Regions from separate parts of the Homo sapiens genome. Here region 1 is linked to region 2. The links are contacts of gene promoters, found by promoter capture Hi-C in blood cells and fetal thymus (Javierre and others, 2016). All regions are on one chromosome and are shown on one strand. The core of a region is centred on a gene start or on the middle of the fragment in contact, and the rest is flanking DNA. Distances in the headings are between cores, read along the strand shown. Region 1 has its middle 110 kb from the start of SNORA37. Region 2 holds the start of POLI (DNA polymerase iota).

Evidence for each region. The method cuts DNA at HindIII sites, captures the fragments that hold promoters and counts their contacts. A CHiCAGO score of 5 or more calls a contact.
Region 1: a fragment that was not itself captured here is called in contact with the fragment with the promoter of POLI in region 2 in 1 of 17 cell types (activated CD4 T cells); the score reaches 6.5 in activated CD4 T cells.

Annotation. Positions count from the first base shown.
Region 1 is chr18:54,114,551-54,118,863 of GRCh38, reverse strand. No RefSeq gene overlaps it. Among named protein-coding and RNA genes, the nearest start is that of SNORA37, 110 kb to the left of the region's middle. The HindIII fragment of the contact is 779 bases long and covers 2,051-2,829 here.
Region 2 is chr18:54,268,065-54,272,371 of GRCh38, reverse strand. POLI (DNA polymerase iota) reads right to left here and starts at 2,855. Exons shown (of 10, transcript NM_007195.3): 1 at 2,711-2,855; 2 at 887-1,012. The coding sequence starts at 2,825. LOC124904307 (a long non-coding RNA gene) reads left to right here and starts at 2,467. Exons shown (of 2, transcript XR_007066379.1): 1 at 2,467-2,546. RefSeq lists enhancers at 2,374-2,423, 2,954-3,083, 3,344-3,493 and a silencer at 2,494-2,743. The HindIII fragment of the contact is 5,901 bases long and covers 1-4,307 here.

The DNA of each region.
Region 1 (4,313 bases), core at 1,191-3,690, 150 kb after region 2:
TAGTTAGTTTCAAAGTTGATACAGTGCTTAGAGCCTAGAGGTATTCTGGGGCTTAGGTACTCCTTTTGCCTTAGTTCAAAGGAAAAACTTAGCATATCCAGCACCTCTCTATTGTTCCAGAGACATCTCAAGAGAGGAAGAAGCCAGAGTAAAAGGCATTGCATTAATTTTTTTTTGAAAGAGTGAGCATAGGAGGCTCAGAGGAATGATATTGTGGGAGATCAAAGCTAAACCTTTGACCGTTCCCCAGTTACCCTGCTTTTTCACTGTTGTTGTGAAATAGGAAGACTCTGCTGGAAATGTTATGGTAGCCGACTCCCTGTACTAAACAGAGCGCCCCCTCCTACAGAAGAGAGGATGGGGATGGGAATGCGACATGAGAAAACAGGAGGAAACAGAAAACATTGTCTCAACGAGTCCCCCTTTTTTTCTGCCTGTTTCATCACTGATATGGTTTGGAAACCTCAAATATATTTTGCCTGGATATTCAAGTTGCTGATAAACTGCAGAGTACAACACATGCTTCTTGCCATTTATTTCGTCAGCTTAGCTTAGATCCTTGCTGCTTAAAGCGTGGTAAATGGACCAGCTGCATTGGCATCAGCACCCAGGAACTTGTTAGAAATGCAGAACCTTGTGCCTCACCCCAGACCGCCTGAATTAGAATCTGCATTTTAACAAAATCCAGGTGCTTTATGTATGAGTTAAATTTTGAAAAGTGCTGGCTTAGATAACACTTTCTGTTTTGTTTTTTACCTAAGGTTTCCTGGAGCAGAGACTGCCCCTCCTATTCTGACTATTTTCTGGGATACTGGTCTATTTGGTGCAAGTGATTCAGAACTAGAGCAACTGATCTCATGCACCTAATGACTAGACTGCACAGAAAGATGAAGTCTTCCAGCATACTCTTCAATATTACTTATTTATTTAACATAAATAGAAGGTGCAGTTTGTCGTTCATTAAGCAAACCTGACAAAACTCCAACTTACAAGACATACAATAGGGAAATGATTATTCACATTATAAGAGTCTCTGCTTTACAGAGACATTTTCCAAACTATTTTTTTAAATTGCCTTGAGGTACATTTGAAATAGAATTTGACTCAAATATTACTTCACAGTCCAGTTTTTAAGATGGCACATAACACATAAATTGAGACATGATTGTACAGATAGTAGTTTTGTGCACATTCATTATTAATAAATTTCTGAAAGAGCTCTTAACCAGTCTTCTCATTTCTTTTTCCCATTTCATCCTAATTTCTCTAAGTCTACATTCTGGTATCACTTCTTTTTATTCATCTACCAACCTATGTAACTCTATTGCTTCACATCCTTATGAAGCCAAAGACCTCACTGACATTGAATTAGCAGAGGAGACGCCTAAAGATGAATTCAAGAAAAATAACCCTTCAGCCTGATGAATAGTAATAGTGGTATTAACACTTGATTTAAGCTTGTAAAGTCCTCTCTGGCAGTAAAGCCCTGCCTAGGAAAGCAGATAGATTCCAGCAGAACACTGAGCAACAGCACAAAAATATTTCTTGGGCCCCAAAATATTATCTATAACTGGTAAACCACATTGAAATAGTCACTCTGACCACCAGCTCCTGTAGATTCGCATGGGTCTTGTTCATATCTCTAATATGGTATGTATATTTCTATAGTGCAATCTGTGTTTTTGACCATTTCTTCTAGGGTATTTGGAGGTCAAGGACTTTGTTTTTCTCATTGTTTTGCATCCAGTGTCTAGCATGTAATAGTATTTCACACAAGCTTGTTGGATGAAAGTCTTTGCAATCTATTGCACAATTACTGATACTTTTAGAGAGGAGCAAGAATTTGACCTCTGAGCAAAGCAGCTACAAAAACCTGGTGAAACACTGATCTGTTATCTCTTCCCACAGAGGCAGGAGTAATGCAGTTCATCTAAAATATCAGATCATAAAAATTAGTATTTGGCTTAGAAATTGTGACTATATTTGAATGTTAATAACTATGAAACACTAAAGAGGGAGAAGAAAACGATGCCTGCTTCACTGAAAAGCTTTACTAACCAGTTACATCTCAGACTTGTTTATCTCAGAGGCTGGCTATGCTTATGCATGGAGTCACTTCTCAAGTCAATACAAAGAACTCAGCTCTGCTGGAAACCTTGCTTGTTCACATAGGCAGATAAGGTTCTTAAAAATAGGCCTTCTTTTCTAGGCTTTGCTTAGAAAGAATCACATCTTTGTCATCTAAGTACTGAACTAAATGCAATGAGTTCTCCCAGACAGATTAAAAATCCTGCCAAGGTAACGTACTAGGAGGTGGGTGATTTTCTGGAGTAACATTCTTTTTGCAGTTGGAACAGTTCCCTCCTGGTGCTAGAATCCTAAATGCTATAGTCATTTGGGTCCCCTGTGTTCAGATATCTGTCCCCAATGCAATCTGGAGGTAGCTGTTACTTCAGAAATTTGTGAGGATATATTAGTTCGTAATGATTGAACTCATACTTCGGAATGAAAGTCACACAAGTTTTCTATACACTTAAATATACACAACAAATCAAAAGTGCGGTTCTGGTAGAAAGTTTCTCAGTAAGAAAATGATGAGAGAATGTAAAGAGAAGAGGCCCTGTTCTTGTCTACTCTGGGCATCTCTTTTTCCACTATATAAAATGTGATTATTCTCTGAAGAATTTCTTATGCTTTTTTCCCCCATACTCGTGTATCCAGAGATTTCATTTGCTTCCATCATGAAACCCAGTGGTAGAAAAACAAAAGATTTTGTTTTTAAGAAGAAGCAAGATATTCTTTCACTTATACTGTTTGCCTAATGAAGCTTATTATCTCCAGAAGGCTCTGAAAACTGTTGTTATTATTATCCCAAGAATGGGATGCCAGCTGTTTGTTCTGACAGCTCTTTGATCCTCAATCCAATTGCTTTCAGGGCTTTGGCCATCTTCCCTTGTATTTTCCATGATCTACTCTTAACTGTCATTACTATTGACAGCAAAAGTCACTTTCTGATCAGCGTTAGAACTAAAAATGGATCCTCTGTTAGATAGACATATGGGCACCAGGTGCTTTACATGCACCACTAGTAAATACATCTCTCCCCCATTGCAACAGTCAAGTAGTGCTTCTCTTTAAAAAATTCCACACCCTATATCTCATGGGGTTTCAAAAATACAGTTGGTGGCAAGAATAATTTCGAAGGGCAGATTCAGAATAAGATAAAATATTATGAGGTTAAATCTTTGAGGATAATTGAGCTGGCATAGGCAATGGTCCAGGGGCATCGATTTCTCATGAAAGGGATAGAATAGAAAGTTAAGGCTGTCTCATTAGTGATTCTTGGAATTACATGACAAGCAATCCTTCTTCTTCCACCTTGGGAAATAGCTTACACTTGGAGATGTGAAACTTGTATGGTACATTAACTTTACTCAAGTTTTTAAATTTTTTTTTTAATTAATTTTTTTTTTTTTAAGAGATGGGATTTTGCTACATTGCTCATGCTGGTCTCAAACTCTTGGGCTTACATAGTCCTCCTGCCTCAGCCTCCCAGGCAGCTGGGGTTACAGATGTGTGCCCAACTTAAAAAAAAAATTTATGAACTTATAGCCACATTTAATTGAGCATTTCAGAAGTGAAACTAAATATACTCCTTACTGATTTCTTGCAATGTCAATCTCCTTTGTGCCTGGGTGACACATGGATAGTATATGAAAATGTGTGTGCTTTAGTTTAACACCTGGAAGGGAAGGAGGAGCTTTTGAGACAGTTGCCTCAGTCCTTGGCATTTTCTCTCTGGGGCTTTACAAGCTGCCTGTTTTCTTGGACACGTGCATAATGTAGTACGTCTAGGGACCTTCTTTTGTGGCTGTTGGAAGTGTGTCCAAAATTGTTATGAAATGTAGCTCAAGCAGTTGACAAGTAATAAAAGCAGTTGATCTCTTATCTTTTATGTGCTGTTTTAATGCTCTAAGCACTCTCTTGAAGGAGATAGGAAGCAAAGCTATTGATTTTTGCTCCATTTGGGGTGGGGTAGGCTTTAGTTGTATTGACAGATGCATGTCGCCAGGGAGTTTGTTGGGAGGAAAAAATACATCTCTTCCCTGGGTCAGACAGGCATTTTCTCCAGAGGGTTCCAACTAAAAGTGAGCATGGAAGGATTTCTCAGGCTTGTGTTTTATACTACAAAGGATTACCACCAGTTAACTGAGAATGCTGGTTGTTATGATTTGTTTTACATTAAAGGATTTAGAGTCTTTGGGATTATTCAGTAACTTAGAGTCATCAATCCAAATTATAAAAAGATTAGA
Region 2 (4,307 bases), core at 1,606-4,105:
TAAGCATTATCTACAGAACATCTTATAACACAGTGCTACTACTCAGAAATGCCTTCAGGAGAAAAAACTTAGGTCCCCTGATTCTAACTCCTTGGCACCCTTAGAAAAGTTTTAAGATCCTAGACTCACCTTGGCGTAGCAAAAACTAGTCATCCCTTTGTTCTTCAGTAAATCAGCTAGGCTGGATTGGGATTTATTAAGCCAAAGTGGGCACAAGAGGGTAGCAGCAAGTGAACCAAAAATGTTCTTTATGCTTACACTAAAAGAGGAATCTTTCCTGCATGCATGAAAGAAAATCTCTTTATCTTTCTCAATTTAAAATATGAATAATAAAAATGATAAAACAAGCTAGCATATCAACAAATATCCAATATAAAATTTATTTTGGCTTTTATTTAAAAAGATGCTTATGTTTTTACGGCAAGTTTGCTGTCTTAATAATACTTAGGTTTATGTTCAAAATCCAACTAGTTAGTTAGATGTTACACAATTTAAGAGATAATTTCAGAAAGGGGAGGACAGACGAACACTTCCACTAAAATGTAATAAGAGGCTGTTTTTGAGAACAAAGCCTGTAAAATTTCAAATAGTGAGAAAAAGAAATCTGACCAGCAAACTAAGCTACTAACCAGCACAGAAAAGTAACATTTATTCTGCTTTCTCTTCATTTGTTCTGCCGACTACACTATTCTCAGATTCACCACTTATTAAATGAGGCTTGTAAAATTTACACTTGGTAGTGAAGCAAAAATGACCAGCTATAAAGCACTGTAAGAACTGCTTCCAAAATCTTTCTTAATAAGGTTAATAAATCAGTATATAATGAGCATGATGAGTTGCTAATCTAATCATTATGCAATTAAAAATATTATAAATCTACAGTTACCTAAAGGTTTGTCTTTTAGCTCTGGATTTGAGATCATTTCTACTTGTGCATAAAAGCAATCCAGATCCACATGTACTATGACTCTGGATGAAGCATTTGGTGTGGGCAACACTTGATCATGAACTCCTGCACAATATGCAAAGAAATAAAAAGAAATTCAGGCTGCTTATTATCTCTGAGCAACTGACAGTTCCTTAAAACATGGTACCTGTGAAGGAAGAATGCAGAGTGACGTGTTTTCTCCTGGATTATGTGTGAAAGCATCGAAAAATTACAAAGACATGAAACTCCACTTAGGGTAGGGTCTTCAGTCCTCTTAATTACTGTTTGTGCACTGCGTTTTTCTCAGGATAGTAATAAGTTTGAAGGGAAAAAATGTGATAAATAATGGATGATGAAAGAGCTAATACTATCACCTGGAAGTTTATAGTAGCTCTTAGTGTAAACCAGAAGGGGCAGAAAAGTTGAAATGACGTTGATTTTCACACAGCTTGAAAATTATTCTAAGCAGCATGCCCTTACATTTAAAACAAACAAACCAACAAAAACTGAAATACAAAATGGCAAAAGACAACCAGTGGGTACAAGTGTGGGCTATTTTTAGCTCCCATGGCAGCAGGATTATCTGGTTTAATGCTAAATCGCCAGTGCCTAAAACAGTGTCTAGGACATAACAGACCACCAATAAATATTCACTAAATTGAAAGACTGAATAGTTCTTTGATTTTAAAAAGTTGTTAGGTCATTATTTGTCGGGGAGGGAATGACAGAGGCGACTCCTTCTCTCAACACTGGCTAAAAACAAGACAGGCAAAATACAATACAATATTCTGGTTGGGATCCTGGAACAGAAAATGAACGTTAGCAGAAAAACTGGTAGAATATTAATAAAGCGTGTAGTTCAATTAATAGTATTATACCAATGTTAATTTCCTAGTTTTGACAAATGTACTGAGTTTATGTTAACACTAGGGGGATCTAGCTCTGCAACTTTCAGGTAAACCTAAAGTTCCAAAATTTAAAAGGCCAGGCACGATGGCTAACTACTGTAATCCCAATACTTTTCGAAGCTGAGGTGGAAGGATCGCTTGTGGCTGGAGTTTGAGACCAGCCTGGACAACACAGCTACACCTGATCTAAAAAAATCTGAAAATCAGCCAGGTGTGGTGGCACGTGCCTGCTGTCCCAGCTACTCGGGACGGAGAGGCTGGGGCGGAGGATCACTTGAGCCCAGGGGTTCGAGGCTGCAGGGAGACCTTGTCTCTAAATTAATGAATGAAACAAAACCAGCAGGAAATGAGAACCGGTGCCTTTACATCCAGGCCCTGAGGTGGGCGGTACAAGGTAAAGACCAGAGCTGGAAGTGGGTCACCGGAGACGTGACCACAGCGGACCTGACTCCGCCTAGGTTCTGAGCCATCCCTTCCTGCCAGGACTGAGATCCGGGTCCCACCTTCTGCCAAATGAGCGACAAGGTCCTCAACTTCTCCAAAGTTAAAAGGCCCAGAAGCCTCTGCAGTTTTCGTCGGGCTGGCTGAGGGATTCCCGCCCCACCTCGCCCCTCACAGAGGAAAGGACGGCGCAGATAAACCCTCGACACGTATTTGTAGTGTGGACGCGCCCCACCCTACTCCTGCTGGGTGAAGCCATTCCTCTAGAGGTACCCGCCGCGTAACACAAGGCAGAGGGAGGCAGCCCTCTCTTAGAGGAGCCGAGTGGGGCGGGGACGGTCGCGCCCCAGTGGCCGCCGCCCCGAGCGTCCGCCTGCCCCACCCTTCTCATTTACACCCAAGGAGGCCGCTGGCTCCTCTGGCTGCGGCGCACCCTGCGAGCTGGCTGCCGCCCCCACGTCCGCCAGTTCCATGGCCCAGGCCTCGGCGTCTTCCTCGTCGTCGTCGCCGCCGCCTTCCTCCTCCGGCTCCACCCCCAGCTTCTCCATCCCGCCGCTGCCAACCGCAGCGCTACTTCCGGCCGCTTCCGCCTGGTCTCCAGGGAAACCGGGGGACTACAGTCTCCAGTCGCTCTGTGCCTCTCGCCTGCGCAGTCGTGGCCGACCAGCCTGTTGCCCAGAGTGACACGCATGCCAAGGAATCGTGGAGGCCCACGTGCGGGAGTTTTTTCCCGCCGGGTGGAGGCCGGAAGCGGAGAGATTGAAAGCACAAATGGCTATTTTTTTTTTTTTTGAGACGGAGTTTCGTTCTTGTTGCTCAGGCTGGAGTGGGCAACAGTGACGCAATACCGGCTCACTGCAACCTCTGCCTCCCGGATTCAAGCGATTCTCCTGCCTCAGCCTCCCAAGTAGCTGGGATTAACAGGCATGCGCCATCACGCCCAGCTAATTTTTTTGTATTTAGTAGAGACGAGGTTTCACCATGTTGGTCAGGCTGGTTTCGAACTCCTGTCCTCAGGTGATCCACCCTCCTAGGCCTCCCAAAGTGTTGAGATCACAGGCATGAGCCACTGCGCCTGGCCTTTTTTTTTTTTTCTTGAAGGCTTTGGAGTTAGGCCCACATCACAAATTTTAGCGTTTTGTCTTTGTTCCATTCGGCTGTTAGCAAACTTGCAAATCCCTAGACCTGAGTGATTAATGTGATGGGGTGGGAAGGAGTGTAACTGATAGTAAAGACACAGGTGGCCTTGTAAACTCATATGATTAGCAACTATGTTAAGGTTTGCTGTGTTTTGTTTGTTGTTGTTTTATTTAAAGACACTGTGACGAATTCAACCACAGAATTTTTAACATCAAAACTGAATAGGATTTGATACATGAGTGTTGTAGTCAGACAAAATCTCCAATCCAGACCCTCCATCATGCTGTGTGACTTTGGGCAGGTTACATAACTGCTGTGAGCCTCAGTTGCTCTACTCTTAAAAAAAAAAAAAAGTATTGAGATTGAATGAATGGATAAAAGCTACCATATACTGTAATATCCTAATGTATATAAAACATGTGGCACATAGGAAGTGCTCAGTAAATGTCTATTCTCCTTGCCTTCTATTAGGATACCATGTGTGCATGTGTGTGTTGGTGTGTGTATGTGTATGTTTTACAATAGAGGAAATTTGGAAATTCCTCCATGCCTGTATGTATGTATATACACTATATCTGTATAAATACCCAAATTAACACATATGTTTGGTTTTTTATATGATTCTACTTCTTATCAAATAAAATATTAGAACCTTGAGAAACCCTTTAAAGCAGCCATTCCCAACCTTTTTGGCACCAGGGGCTGGTTTCATGGAAGACAATTTTTCCACAGACAGAAGGGAGGGGGATGGTTTTGGGATGATCCAAGTGCGTTACATTTGTTGTGCACTTTATTTCTATTATTATTACATTTTAATAGATAATGAGGTAGAATCAGTGGGAGCCCTGAGCGTGTTTTCCTGCAACTAGACTGTCCCATCTGGGGTGATG